Linked DNA regions of Homo sapiens: region 2 is linked to region 1. The links are contacts of gene promoters, found by promoter capture Hi-C in blood cells and fetal thymus (Javierre and others, 2016). All regions are on one chromosome and are shown on one strand. The core of a region is centred on a gene start or on the middle of the fragment in contact, and the rest is flanking DNA. Distances in the headings are between cores, read along the strand shown. Region 1 holds the start of TERF2IP (TERF2 interacting protein). Region 2 holds the start of CMC2 (C-X9-C motif containing 2).

Region 1 (7,697 bases), core at 3,143-5,642:
GGTATGTAAATAGGGAGACTGCCTTTTCAGTATGTACCCATTTGTACTCTGAGTATATCTACGGGATAAATTCCTAGAACAAAACTGCCATGTTTAAGGGAATATACGTTATAAATGTCATCAGATATTGTCAAAATGCCCCCCAAAGAAATTGTATCAATTTCTATTAACAACGTAGGAGTATACTTGTTTTCCCATACACTAACTTTGGATATTACCCATTGTATTGACTTTTGCCAATCTTATAGATAAAGTATAACATCTCCTTGCTCTGATTTAGTTAAAAAAAATAAATAACTTGGGGAGCTTTTGTTCTATTTTGTATAATGGAAGCTATCTCAATTCATCAAATAAATACAAAACAATTCCAACACACATATTTATTATCTCACAGGTCTCATGGGTCAAAGTATAGCTTATACTGACCCTAGGCTCAGGGTCTGATTTACTTTCTTTCTTCTTCTTTTTTTCTTTCCGAGATGGAGTCTGGTTCTGTCACCCAGGCTGGAGTGCAGGGGCTTGATCTCAGCTCATTGCAACCTACACCTCCCTGGTTCAAGCAATTTTCATGCCTCAGCTGCCTGAGTAGCTGCGATTACAGGCGCATGCCACCATGCCTGGATAGTTTTTGTAGTTTTTAGTAGAGACGGAGTTTCATCATGTTGGCCAGGCTGGTCTCGAACTCCTGACCTCAAGTGGTCTGCCACCTTGGCCTCCCAAAGTGCTAGGATTACAGGCATGAGCCACCGCACTCGGTCTGATTTACTTTCATTTAATAACAGACTATTTCTTCATTTGTTTATCGGCCGCTTATTTATTTCCTTTTCTGGGAACTTCCTGTTCCATTTCCTTTTCTCATTTTTCTATTAGTTTTCTTTTTACTTAATGACTTCTTACTTAATGACAAAGAGCTCTTTAGACATTAAAGAAACTAAGTCTATTGCAGTGTATTGGGAATGTTTTTCCAGCATGCCCTCTGACTTTATTTATCATGAGAAGTTCTTAATTTTCAGGTAATCAAATATATAAAACTTTTTCTTTGTCTTTTTGGCTTCATAACTTATCACCATGCTAATATTTTTACTTTTTTTCTTCTGGCAAATCAGGCAGCATCCTGAACCACAAATGGTTCAGAGCAACTCCCACCATACTGATATATTCATTCATATCTTCTCTTACTCATTTTAGAATTTTTTAATTTTTACATTTAAATATCTGATTATCAAAAGATTACTTAGATGGGTAGGATGAATACAGCTTAATTTTGTCCCAAGTTCCAAATGGCTTGCCAATAGCCCCAACATCACGGATTTAAAAGCAAGTCCCAGACACAGCATGGTGGCTCACACCTGGAATCCTAGCACTTTTGGGAGGCCAAGTCGGGCAGATCCCTTGAGCCCAGGAGTTCGAGACCAGCCTGGGCAACACGGCCAAATCCTGTCTCTACAAAAAAATACAAAAATTAGCTAGGTATGGTGACGAGTGCCTGTAGTCCCAGCTACTTGGAAAGCTGAGGTGGGAGGATCCACTGAGCCTGGGAAGTCAAGGCTGCAGTGAGCCGTGATCGCACTACCGCACTCCAGCCTGTGTGACAGAGCAAGACCCCATCTCAAGATATATAATAAAATTAAAATAAAATAAAAATAAAAGCAAGGCCATACATGATGACATACTTCACCCATACACATAGCCCTAACCTCATCTGCTATAATTAATTCTCCCTCCTACTCCATTAACAGCCACTCTGTTCTCTTTGTGGCTCCAAACACACCAGCCATACTCCCACCTAAGGGCGATTGCCCTGGCTTCTTCCTCTGCCTGAACACTCTTCCCCAGATATCCACCTGGGTTGCTCTTTCACTTCCTTCGGTCTCTGCTTAAACATCAGCTTATGAGAATGACCTTCTCTTATCATCCTATAGGAAAAACCTCCTCCCCAACCCTTACACTCTGAATTATTTTTCTCTATAGCCCTTACCACTCCCCAGCTAGCATGTTATAAGCTCCAGGACCACAGGGACTTTTATTTATTGTTATATTCCAGCAGGACCACAATGTCTGGCACTCAAATTTCTGCTGAATGAATGAAGCTGAAATGTCACTTTTACCAAAACAAAATTCCTACTAAGCATACTGAACAGGAGAAAAAGATTTTACTCCCCAGACTTCAAGTGTTAAATGGAGTAGTCATACAGGCAAAGAAAAGGTGGGAGGATTACGGAGGGGGAGGAGAAGCAGCATGCCTCTTTAAACAAAAGGGTCTATCGGTTTAAGTTATCAATGCCAGGTACGTCACCAAGTACATCTTAACAGACTCGTTCTGTATCCTAGACATACTGAACCCCAATTTTCAATTCAACTGCATTAAAAACTCACTTCACCTAAGCAAGACCAGGAAGAGACCTTCCAACTGCCGAGAACCTTCTTAAGTCCATAGGCATTCAGTTACGCCAGAGCATTAAAGTAAGTCTGGTACGCCTTTATACTGAATCTACCTGAACATAACAGCAATCTTTTTTAAAAAGGAGTCTGTGGAATATCTCTTAAAAGAAACACAAGAAGCCAGTTAGCCCGTGGGTAGCTGGTGGACAGGAAGGACGAGATAATTTTTTTTTTTTTTTGAGATGGAGTCTTGCTCTGTCACCCACGCTGGAGAGCAGTGGCGCAGTCTCGGCTCACTGCAACCTCCGCCCCCCGGGTTCAAGCAATTCTCCTGCCTCAGCCTCCTGAGTAGCTGGGACTACAGGAACTCTCCGCCACGGCCGGCTAATTTTTGTATTTTTAGTAGGGGCGGCATTTCGCCATGTTGGTCAGGCTCGTCTCGATCTCCTTACCTCAGGTGATCCGCCCGCCTCGGCCTCCCAAAGTGCTGGGATTACAAGCTTGAGCCGCCGCGCCCGGCCAAGAGAGAATTTTCTATATACTTTTTGTAACTTTTGAATATAGAACCATGTCAATATTCTAGTCAATGGTAAAGTAAATTAAAACTAGACCAAGAAGCTGGGTGTGATGGCTCACGCCTGTAATCCCAACACTTTGGGACACCGAGACGGGAGGATCGCTTGAGCCCAAGAGTTCGAGACCTGTCAGGGCAACACAACGAGACCCCCATCTCTACAACAATTTTTTTTTTAATTTAGCGGGACGTGGTGGCGCGGGAGTGTAGTTCCAGCTACTTGGGAGGCTGAAGCCGGAGATTCGCTTGAGCCCAGGAGGTCCAGGATGCAGTAGGTCGTGATCGCGCGGCTGCATCACAGCCTGGGCGACGGAGCGAGCCCCCACTCAAAAATTAAAAAATAAAAACGACGAGAGGCCAGACGTGGTGGCTCACTCCTGTAATCCCAACACTTTGGGTGGCCGAGGCAGGAGGATCGCTTGAGCTCAGGAGTTCAGACCAGCTTAGGTAACAGAGACCCATCGCAAAAAAAGAACAATAATAAACAACAAGGGAGCGAGAAGGCAAGAAAATGGTGCAAATTTACCCGGATGTCAACAGGGGGCGGGGCCAAGCGCTGCTACCGAAGATGCCAAGATGGACGCCAGGCAGCCAGGAGAAAGATCCCAACCCCACCCGCGCAGATATCCGCGAGGCCCCGCGCTCAGCCTCCTCACCCCCGCTATCCGCGGCCTCCGGGTCCTCCTCCGCCTTCCGCTTGAGCTTCTGGGAGGAGGGGCTCACCGGCGCGTCCCCCAGCAGGTACTTATGCTCCTGGCCCCGCAGGTGCTTGAGGTAGCGGTCCTTCAGGGACTGCCACGAGTGCTGCGTGAGCGAGCTCTTCTCCATCGCTTTCCACAAGGCGTTACCGGTGACGGAGCTGGGCGAGCGGGCATTTTCCTTCACGTAGGTAAGGATGGCTACGTCGTCCGCATCCGTGAAGGCGATCCGCCCGGCGTGCCGCTGCGGCTCCGGCTCCGCGGCGCCCTCGGCCAGGGCCCCGGGCTTTGCTTCCGAGCCGGTGTCCGCCGCCGAGGCGGGGCCCAGCCGATAGGCCTCCAGCTCCAGCCTCTCGTTGCGCTCCACGCAGTCCAGGATGTACTGCGTGGAGATGAAATCACCCGAGGCCTCGGCCAGCGCCTCCCCGGGCTGGGCCAGCAGCACGGCCCCGGGCTCCTGCACTCGGCACACGGTGCCGCCGCCGTGCAGGATGAGCGTCGACAGCCGACGCTTGGCCGGGCTGGGCCGCACGTAGAAGGACATGGAGCTGCCGTCGTCCCTCACGAACAGAGTCGAGGAATGGGTGGGCCCGTTGGGGTCTTTGCCCAAATCCATCGCCTCCGCCATGTCTGACGCCGAGCACTACTAGAAGAGCTACCCCCTCGCGAGCGCCTGGCACACAGAGCTCAACTGACTGAGCTGTCACCGCAGACGCCTCTGCCGCGAAGCGCAGCACTGGGCCTGCGCAGCAGCAGCCGCGGCGCATCGAGAGTGCCCGCCCCCTCTCCCCCGGAAGAGGTGGGGCTTCGCACCTTGACCTGGAAATTAACGTACTATCCTCCTTACTTTTGGGTCGGGCCCTCCGGGAAGATGGCGGCCGTGCAGGCGGCCGAGGTGAAAGTGGATGGCAGCGAGCCGAAACTGAGCAAGAAGTGAGTGTCGCTGCGAGTCTTTAAAGCCTTTGCGGTAGGAGAGTCTGGGCTGGGAAGCGCCGCGAGGTTCCCACCAAGGCTGCTGTGCCGGGGCCTTCTTGCCGGCTCTCGTGGGTACGCACATGCTGAGACGTGGTGGCTGCGCCCTGCAGACCACGTACCCCGGGATACCCCGGGCACGCCGGCTCCCCGTTCCCAGCTGGCACCGGCGGGATGCTCCCTATCATACTCCTAGAGTTAAGAGACTGTGGAGGAGGAACTAGGACGAGAACTAAGAGTTATCAGAAAAGAAAAGCGAAACTTCCTGCTTAGCTTCATCCTCCTTTCTGAGAAATGCATTCTTTTGTTGAGCCACTCAGTAAACGTGGAAGTTGGAGAAATGTTAAATACCCTAGCTTTTCAGAAAGACCTTCAAAATTTTCTGGGCCTCACTAAGGTCATTCTGAACGTTATGTATTAAAAGGGATCAGTTCTAAAACTGTCATGCATCTACCCGTATGGGTTATTCAGTAGATACCTGTGAGTATTAAGTGATCAACGTCTAACAGTAGAGACCATCTTAATTCAGCCTGATATCTTTGTTAACCACTCCCAAATCCCTGGAGTATGTAGGTTAACATAGATAAGTCAGGATTAGCCACCCTTTAACTGGCTGTCTTATATTCTCATTAGCGTTCCCCATTTGAACCACAGAACACAGGTAATTGAGTGTTTTATCATTGCTAGGAAGATGGTACATAGTACCATTCCAGAGGCATACGAGAGGGCTTAATCCCCGTGGCGCGCACTTGTTATCCCAGCTACTCGGGAGACTGAGGCAGGAGAATCGCTTTAACCCAGGAGGCGGAGGTTGCAGTGTGCTGAAGTCGTGCCACTGCACTCCAGCCTGGGAGACTTGAGGTAGTGGTCCTTCAGGGACTGCCAGAAGTGCTGCGTGAGCGAGCCCTTCTCCATCGCTTTCCCCAAGGAGTTACTGAGACGGAGCCAGACCCTGAATGAAAAAGAAAAGAGAAATGATGTTTCTTTTTTTTTTTTTTTAAGATGGAGTCTCGCTCTGTCGCCAGGCTGGAGTGCAGTGGCGCGATCTCAGCTCACTGCAACCTTCGCTGCCAGGGTTCAAGCGATTCTCCTGCCTCAGCCTCCCGAGTAGCTGGGATTACAGGCGTGTGCCACCATGGCTGGCCAATTTTTGTATTTTTAGTAGAGACAGGGTTTCACCATGTTGGGCAGGATGGTCTCAATCTCGTTACCTTGTGATCCGCCCACCTTGGCCTCCCAAAGTGCTGGGATGACAGGCGTGAGCCTGAGCCACCACCCCTGGCCTGATGTTTCCTTTTGTGTCCCTGGCTTTGTGCTTCAAATATCTTAGAAAAAGTATAAGAGAAATTGTCGAAGTTTATAGTTGGGTAGGACCTTAATATATTGTCCTTTATTAGAGCAATCCGATGGACTTCCATAAAAGTTTGGAACCTGGTCTTTGGACTGCTACCTTAGAGAAAATTGACTTGACTTTATTAAGTCAAATTTAATTGAATGTGGTATATCTGTGATATACGATCCTAAAGTTTAGTTCATTCTTTCAAACCACCTATGATAATCAATTACATTGAATTGAACTTTAGGACTGTATATCACAGGTGAAAGCACGGTTTCCAGTTCAGAGTGTGTTTTTAGGTAAACGGAAAAAACTGGTTAATTCCTCTTTACTGACTTTTTTTTTTTTTTTTTTTTTTTGGAGGCAGAGTCGTTGTTGCCCCGGCTGGATTGCAGCGGTGCGATTTCAGCCCACGGCAACTTGCAACTCCCGGGTTCAAGCAATTCTGGTGCTTCAGCCTCCCAAGTACCTGGGACTACAGGTGCATGCCACAACACCCGGTTAAATTTTTGTGTTTTAGTAGAGACGGGATTTGACCTTGTTGCCCAGGCTGGCGTCAAACTGCTGAGCTCAGGTGATCCGTCCGCCTCAACCCCACAAAGCGCTAGGATTATAGGCGTGAGCCACCACTCCCTGCTTCACTGACTTTTCTAAAATTAAATACAGCTACTACTTTTTTGACCAGCTTTTCTGTGCCAGGCACAATGCTAGATCTCTACAAGCTTTCTGTCTAGTGTCAGTAATAACCTTGCAAGAGGAGTTATTGTCCATTTTTCAAATTAATAAACTGAGGTCCTAGTAATTAAATGCACTATTAAAGTGTGCATTCCTAAAATATAGTCTAGCAGTGATCCAGAGCACTGGAGCACGGATCTGAACTCAGGCCTGTGACTCCACAGTCCATGCTCTGTATCCTGACTGCACAGCACTACTCACGTTGTCTTACCTGTCATTGATGTCTATTCCTCTCGTTACCATGAGCTAAAATAATTTTTTTCTGATTAACATTTCCTTCCGTTTATTGTTCTGGGGAATTCCTTGGTCTGAAATTTTTAGTAAGCACCATTTTGTGCCAGGTATTGACTCCAAGTTTAAAAGCAGATGTGCTCCCTGCCCGAGTGAAATAGCCTCCTCAAATTTATTTGAACACGGTAAAGAAGGTGATCTCTGTAATTCTGTTGCCTTCCAGTGTTGATAATGTATAAACATAACGCAGTCTAAGGACCTTCCTGAAATTCTCCTTTCCCCTTGTTCCTAGAGTTCCAAACAAGTCTTCTCTTTGACACGTATTTTTGTGTGGCTTGCATTTATCTTTGTCTAGAGTTTGCAATTGATAGTGACAGTTTCCTCTTATTTTATATGCTTCCTATTGCCATCTTGTGGCCAGGTATTTCCTCTCCAGGTGAGAAACCACACTTCAGGGCTTCAGAAAGTGCCTCACATCCTGTTCCCATATTCTAGGATGTTGTGAGCAATTTTACCTGTAAGCTATCCATTAACTTGCTGTTGGCTTTACCCCAGATATGCATGTTTTTTCCATAGTCAGGACTAAGAACATTGTCAGTTACAGTTGTAGCACAGAGAGTGTTACAGGGTTGCTATCAGTTAAGACAGTCTTAAGTTAAATGGGACTAAAAGGTAGTAGAAGCATGGTCCCCCTCCCCAACCCATAAGAGAGTTGGTTGGGTATATGTATACTGTCTGTCCCATCTGACACCACATCTCTGTGTTTCCC
Region 2 (7,697 bases), core at 2,408-4,907, 5.4 Mb before region 1:
GCCTGTGAACAAAGAGCTCTTTCCTCCCTCACTTCTCCTGCCCATGCCTGAGGGTGAGATTCCTTAATTGTCTATAAGGTCCTGAGCCCCAAATCTGGTGTGCCTCCCTTATCAATAGGCAAGGGATATAATCTCCAGAAGAATGACCTAGCGGCTGCAGGAATAAGGAAGGAAGATTCTGAGCTCTTTTATCATTTTCCTTTGGCAGAAGTTGTGAGCCAATGGTGACAGCTGATCTCACGTCTGCTACTTTATTTGGGGACACCAGTGAGCATCTCTCTCTCTCTCTTCAAATACAGAACAAAAAAGCAAGCAAACATGATATTTATTTATTTTTTTCATTTGAGATAGAGTCTCACTCTGTCGCCCGGGCTGGAGTGCAGTGGTGCAACCTCGGCTCACTGCAACCTCCCCTGCCTGGTTCAAGTGATTCTCCTGCCTCAGCCTCCCAGGTAGCTAGGACTGCAGGCGTGCACCACCACGCCTGGCTAATTTTTGTATCTTTAGTAGAGACATGGTTTCACCATGTTGCCCAGGCTGGTCTCGAACTCCTGACCTCAAGTGATCTGCCCTCCTCGGCCTCCTGAAGTGCTGGGATTACAGGTGTGAGCCACCGCGCGTGGTCTGCAAACATGATTTTTATACAATGCAGGGTACCACCCGCATACTTTAATGTCCCTTAACAGTGTGTCTTCTAGGAAGGCACACACAGACCTTGGCATCTGTGTTTAAGACAAGCCTGTCAGTCATCTGTTTCCTTCACAACTGTGGGAATTCCAGGGACAAAGAAGTATCTTCCTACAAGAGTCCTGGCTGTGACTTATTTGTTGAACACTGAAAAATTATCCTTGTCCACTTCTGAAAAGAAATAGTTGACTGTATTTTAACAATATACTGAAAATGATAGTAAGACAAAGATAAAGAGGAAGGATTAGGAGTCATTTAGAAATAGAAAAATAACTGAATTAAGGTCGTAGGAACAGAATCAGGATCATGAAACAGGAGTCGGATTTGTTTCTTTGTGTAGTTACTGGACCATCTAAAGCCTTCACCATGGTCTACAAGGCCCCGTGTTGCGTGGCCCCTGCTTCCCTCTCCTTGGTTTTCTGAGCTCCAACTACACTAGTCTCTTAAATAATCTCTAGAGAAGGACCATTGTGCCTGCAGTTACAACTGCCTAGAAGGTTCTTCCTGCACATGTTCTCTCCAGTGACTTCTTGCAATTCTGGTGTTAGCTTAGATGGTTTCTCCTCAGACTTATCCTGACCACCCAACCAAAAGTTACTTCCCCACTCTCCACTGCTAATTGTTTTTTTCCTTTTTTTTAGACGGAATCTTGCTGGGTCACCCACATTAGAGTGTAGTAGTGGGATTTCTGCTCACTGCAGCCTCCTGCAGCCTCTGCCTCCCAGATTCAAATGATTCTCCTGCCTCAGCCTCCCGAGTATCTGGGATTACAGGTGTGCACCATGACACCCAACTAATTTTTCTACTTTTAGTAAAGATGGGGTTTCACCATGTTGGTCAGGCTGGTCTTGAACTCCCAAGCTCAAGTGATCCTCCCGCCTCGGCCTCCCAAAGTACTGGGATTACAGGCGTGAGCCTCTGCACCAGGCCATCCACTGCTAATTGTCTTTACAGAACTATCTGAAATTATCTTTTTAACTTTTCTTGTTTCTAAAATTGAGCTCCAGGGCAGGACGATGTTTTTATTCACAGCTATACTCCTAGACCAGAACTGCCTCACTATAGTCAGTAAGTCTAATCAGGCCAAGAACAGTCTAATGTGTCTTTGATAAATACTTGTGGAATGAATGCCTGAGGAGACAACCTGGGTGGTTTGGGGTTCAACAGTCAGTGAAACATCAAATCAACACCTCTCCCATTAAGAACACGGGCGAGGGGCCGGGAGCGCGCCGGGCGTGGTGTATCACTTGAGGTCAGTCGTTCAAGACCACCCAGGCCAACATGGTGAAACTCCGTCTCTACTAGAAATACAAAAATTAGCCGGGTGTCGTGACGCACACCTCTAGTCCCAGCTACTCGGGAGGCTGAGGCAAGAGAACAGCCTGAATCCGGGAGGAGGAGGTTGCAGTGAGCCGAGAACGTGCCACTGCCCTCCAACATGGGCGACAAAGCAAGACTCCGTCTCAAAAAAACAAAAAACAAACAAAAAAACCCACAGACGAGGCTACCCGTTAAAATGAAGATTCCTGGGCCCTATCAAATTAAACTGTGAGGAGGGCGCACGGAGGGCTTGAGATTTAGCATCTTTTAAAAAGTACGTCAGATGATTTATTCCGGGTAAAGTTTGCAGAACGCCAGTCTAAAGAAATTTGGTAGAGCGCCCTCAGTCTCACCAATTAAGACGGAAATCCCTTTAGTAAACGTTTACCCCGTGACCATTTTTAAACTTTCCTTTTTTTGTTGTTTCGGAGACACAGTCTCGCTTTGTCGCCCAGGGTGCAGTGCAGTGGCGCGATCTCGGGTCACTGCAACCTCCGCCTCCCGGGTTCATGCGCTTCTCCTGCCTCAGCCTCCCAAATAGCTGGGATTACAGGCACCCGATACCACGTCCGGTTAATTTTTGTATTTTTAGTAGAGACGGGGTTTCACCATGTTGGCCAGGCTGGTCTCGAACTCCTGACCTAAGGTGATCCGCCCACGTCGGTCTCCCAAAGTGTTGGGATTACAGGCGTAAACTACCGCGCCTGGCCCCATTTTAAAACTTTCTTTATACTTCCTAGCGTTTTAGTGTCTGACATACAGTAGATGCTCAAGATCTGTGGAACGCATGATCAAAAAGATCCATTTTAAGTAACGTTCCCGTAGCCACACACCTCTGCTGCGCTCCAACAGGCAATGCGAGGAGCAACGCAAGAGGGTACAGGGACAAAAAACGACGGAAGCCGAGGTGACAGAAAAGCAAAACCCCAACTCTGGGAAAGGAAGCAACCCCAGGATCGTAGAGCGGAGCCCCTGGTCACATGACCACACGGCCCTCCCCTGACGCAGTCGCGAGCCTACGAAAGGCTCCACCCGCCCCACCGCGGGCGAGGTGACGTCACAGCCGGCACAGCGCCACCGCCCCCTCACCTCGGCCCGAACCGTAGTTCCTCGCCCCGAGCCCGAGACCCAGCGCCAATCCTGCGCCTCACAACGTGCGACAATTGCGAAAAAGCCACCCCCGAGGCCTGGGATCTGGCTTCCTCAAGGCCCCACACCCTCCGGGGCCCGATCCAGTGCCGCCCGGGGCTCTCTTACCGGCCCACATCTCCTGCAGTCTCACTCCTCAAGAGCTGTTCCCGCTCGCCGCGCCTTCAAAGCCACCAATTGCAGTTCCCGCCGCCTCCAAGCTCCGCCCACCGGAGCACAAGCATCAGGCTGTGTCTTGGGCACAGGGGACTGCACGGGGGAGCGACTGAAGCGAAGGTCGCCGAGCCCCCCACGCCGCTCTTCTTAGAAGTGTGCAACCTTGCACCAGTAGTGGACTTACACATAGGCTCCGTTAGGACCTGGCTTATGTGCTCGGCTTGTGGCTTAGACGCTGCCGTGCCCCAGTGGACTCACTGTGCCTCCCCCCACGACGGACGGAAATGGGCCCCTCCAGGACAGGCGGCGCATGCGCCTTGGGGCCCGCGGGCGGCGGGGGCGAGGAGCCGGGAGCACGGTGGAGCGGTGGAGGGCGTCACTGGGTTTCGGCGTCTGGCAAGCGGTTCAGCTGTCTGCTCCCTAGCAGCCGGCCTTCGGGTCGGGCGTCTCCGCCGGCTACTGCCGCTTCAGTTCTCCCGGTGTGGCCACGAGTCGGGTGAGTCTCGGGAGTCCAGGCCGTTCCGAACGCGTTCCGTTGTTCCTCCTCAGGTCCCTGATGGCGCGTCCCGCCGAGCCCCTTCCTGCCGCCCGTCGGCCCCAGGAGGTGGGGACCAGGAAGACCCGGCTGCCGCAGGCCCACAGCCGGGCTGCTGCGCTGGGGAGGCTGCGAGCGAGGTGGCTGGGCGCTCGCTGGAACACGCTGGTGGCCGAGACAGGCCGTGGGCGTCGCTCGGGGTTGGGATCCGCCCGCCACTCACTCAACTGGCTGGTGACCTTGGGCGCGCTCCTCCCCTCCCGGAGCCGGGGCTTCCTCGCCGGTAAAATGGACCTTGAGGAATGGAGCCCTCAACACAGGGTTTGACACGATGAGCGCCCAATAAAGTGTTGTTATTGTTGTTTATCTAGCAATTGAGAATTTGCGGGTAGAAAACGGGGGCCGTTCAAGCAAGTCTCAGCTGCAGTGCCCTGTGATGTGAGAACCCACCAAGAGCCCCATCAGTACACTTTACTCTTTTTTCTCCTTTAATGCTTTTTTTTTCCAGGAAAGTAATACATTCATCTTGCTTTTCTTGCGTTTAAAGATCAGGCGTTTTACGTAGAGTCTTAAGTAAATCAGTTTTGGAAGTCTTCATTTAAAACCTCAAAGGCATGGAAGTTTTCGATGGCAAAGGAATTATGTTGTGATGCCATTCGTATCTCCTCTCCTTTATATGTATGGCTTTTGCACTTGTTTAGTTGATTTAAAATGAGTTTCTTTTTCATCCTTTTCCTACTGCGTTGAGGCCTGAACTAGTTGTCAGTTTCTGACATTCCGCGAACATCGATTGGGCATTTACCATGTGCATTGGCAAGAATGCTCCCTCACGAGCCTGTGCGTTCCTTGAGATGTGTGAACGAGTATTTTCCTCTGAAATTCACATGATTCTGGCAGAGTGCTAGGCACCTTGTAAGTCCTGGTAATGTTTATTCAGGGAAAGCTGCGAGGGCGCATTCTCTGAGAAACTCTTCGGTGGAAGTCAGAGTAGTTAAGCCCTTCTCCCTAGGCAGCACCCCCGGGTCCCTCCCAGAAGCAGCCTGGCATGGGGTCTACAGTGCCAGCGCCAGTCGCTTTCTTAGTGGTATCGGTTTAGAACTGGTCCTGTGATAAGTGGAAGTGGGCAGGGGAGGCCGTCCCCGACCGTGTCTGCGACCTCTGCTGCAGTATGGCTCATAGCTTGAAAAGTTGAAAAATAATTCTTTAATACCAGGGCCGAAATGTAGGCCTTAAAAATGTTTTATGTTATTTATTTATATATATATATATTTAAATTTTATTTTGAGACGGCGTCTTGTTTTGTCGCCCAGGCTGGAGTGCAGTGGCGCGATCTCGGCTCACTGCAACCTCCACCTCCCGAGTTCTAGTGATTCTCGTGCCTCAACCTCCTGAGTAGCTAGGGTTACAGGCCACGCCTGGCTAATTTTTGTATTTTTAGTAGAGACGGGGATTCACCATGTTGGCCAGGCTTGTCCTGACCTCAAGTGATCTGCCTGCCTCGGCCTCCCGAAGTGGTGGGATTACAGGCGTGAGCCACCGCGCCTAGCCTAAAAAGATATATTTTAGAAAGCGGAGTGTTTACAGTTTTTTTTTCTGGAGAACAGTTTCTTCAGACTCTGCACAACAGACTTTTCTGGCCTTGTTTTTTGCTTATTTTGCAGTAGCATTAGAAATTACAACTGTAGTGTAAATTTCCTGTGCAGCCGCACAATAGGAAAATCTTTCTAAAGAAAAGCCAACTGGCATTAAAATACAGGGTTCTTCCTTGTGATTATAGATTTGCTGAAGTGAGTTATTAGAATGCTTACCCGTTTTCTTTATACTAGAGTTAATACAGCGCTGGCTCTTGGTTTATTTTCTAAAATTGTGCCACCTGGTGGTTGAAATCTGTCTTAGACTACTCTTGAGGAAAATTGTACCTCAGAGTCAGTAGACAAAGATTGAAGGAGTGAGTAAAAGAAAGCTATAATTTTTATATCTTCACTAAGAGTACCCTACCGCTTCTACCCTCCCAGCTTACTCCCCAGGAAAAGTTAAAATTGCCCTTATGGGCCCCTTAGCTAGCTATCAAAACACATTTGACAGCTGAAAATTTTAAGGAATTTCAGTGGACTGTTTTGGTATCATTGTGTGCATACACAGTGGATGGGGCTGGATTGAGGAGGGAGGTGGTGGAATCGTGACAAGTTTACCTTTTTGATGTTTTCTTAAATGCCATTGTAAAGATGAGACTGACAAACTGATGGAAGTCAGAGTAGTTAAGCCTTCCTCCCCAGGCAGTCCCTGGGGTCGCTCCCAGGAGCAGCCTGGCTTGGGGTCTGCACTGGAATTAAATATTATTCTATTCAAATAATAACAGTTTGAATGGAATTTATCCCTCTCTATTTCACTGGAAACATCCAAGAACGAGGTCTTATGTTCCTTTCACTTTCGTTTCCACCATGCTGCTGATGTTCATAATTATTATTTTTTGAGATGGAGTCTCACTCTTTCGACCAGGCTAGAGTGCAGGTGGTGCCATCTCAGCTCACTGCAACCTCTGCCTCCAGGGCTGAAGCGATTCCCCTGCCTCAGCCTCCCAAGTAGCTGGATTACAGGCCCCCACCACCACGCCCAGCGAATTTTTGTATTTTTAGTAGAGACTGGGTTTCACCATGTTGGCTAGGCTGGTCTCGAACTCCTGACCTCAAGTGATCTGCCCACCTCGGCCTGCCAAAGTTCTGAGATTACAGGCGTGAGCCACAGCTTCCAGCCTCACATAAGTTATTTTAAACCCATGCCATCACTGAGATATATAGGTCAAGAGCAAATTCCATTTTATGGAAGAGAGACTTAGGTCTCAGATTAGTAACCAAAATGATGTAACTTGTGAGTAGCTGACTAGTGACAAATACAATACTCTTCTCTTTTTTTGTGTCTTGACAGACTCACTATTTCCACACTTACAGGATAGTATTACGTTGGCTGCTTTGGAACTTGGGCCTAGAATGACTACCTTTTGAACTTGTAGTCAATCAGAAGCTCTTTGGGAAATAGTTTTTCCATCTGAATGTATTTCATTCACAAACTGCTGTGAATGCCTGTCTTTCCTATTTTGAACATGGATTAAAAATCTGTCATGGTTAGAGATTATGTTGGGTTGTGACTTTGCAGCTAACTACTGTGTGACCTGGGGCTTAGTTTCTCTATGAAAATGTGGGCAGTGCATATTTTGACCTATAAAAAGACAGTTTCTCATGGTTCAACTGAATTTAAAAGGCTACCCGTTTCATAAGGTTATTGCATTGTAAGACTTGTGCTTAGCACTTGGCAAGTGTTCAACAAATTATTTTCTAAACTAATAACGTTGATATCTTCTTATGACTTTGAAGAAATTTTAAGAATAAGAATATGGAATACGTATTTAGCGTTTCTTCAGTTTGTTAAATATATTTTGAGTTAAATTGTGTTACTAGAATAGTCTTTTAAAGGTGAGTGCTGGAAGACATCAGCACTTAATTACATGTGTTCTGAGAGAACATTGCCATTTTTACAGTTGTACCTTACATATTACACCCCAGAATACAGCAGTACATCTGTGTATGCACCAACATTTAGGCAAAGCCAAGTGACACAAAGTGGATGGAAGTGAGCATAGGTGACGGGTAGGTAGAGGGCAAGGGGAGGAAGAACATATCTAGCTAAAAATATGTGGTAGAAGAAAGAAGGGAGTGATGGGGAAAGCAAGGAATCTGTTGGATAAGGGATAAGGTGAGTGTTTAGAGCTTTAGGTTAAGTAGTAGCTTCTTACCAAGAATAGGAAAAGGAAATGAAATTAAACCATTTTATTCTTTGACATAGTCATCTAGGC

The links. Contacts are between HindIII fragments. The CHiCAGO score rates a contact against its expected background, and 5 or more counts as called.
Region 2: a contact is called between the fragment with the promoter of CMC2 here and the fragment with the promoter of TERF2IP in region 1, in 3 of 17 cell types (M0 macrophages, non-activated CD4 T cells and M1 macrophages). The highest score is 17.6, in M0 macrophages.

Annotation. Positions count from the first base shown.
Region 1 is chr16:75,644,468-75,652,164 of GRCh38, reverse strand. It overlaps TERF2IP (TERF2 interacting protein), which reads right to left and starts at 4,392. Exons shown (of 3, transcript NM_018975.4): 1 at 3,613-4,392. The coding sequence starts at 4,282. It overlaps KARS1 (lysyl-tRNA synthetase 1), which reads left to right and starts at 4,500. Exons shown (of 14, transcript NM_005548.3): 1 at 4,500-4,587. The coding sequence starts at 4,526. RefSeq lists enhancers at 1,857-1,936, 2,515-3,470, 3,268-3,537, 3,471-4,428, 4,468-4,647 and a silencer at 3,848-3,967. The HindIII fragment of the contact is 3,802 bases long and covers 2,885-6,686 here.
Region 2 is chr16:81,002,845-81,010,541 of GRCh38, reverse strand. It overlaps CMC2 (C-X9-C motif containing 2), which reads left to right and starts at 3,657. Exons shown (of 4, transcript NM_020188.5): 1 at 3,657-3,808. It overlaps CENPN (centromere protein N), which reads right to left and starts at 3,328. Exons shown (of 11, transcript NM_001100624.3): 1 at 3,265-3,328. RefSeq lists enhancers at 2,820-2,959, 3,270-3,379, 6,243-6,332 and a silencer at 3,550-3,919. The HindIII fragment of the contact is 14,741 bases long and covers 1-7,697 here.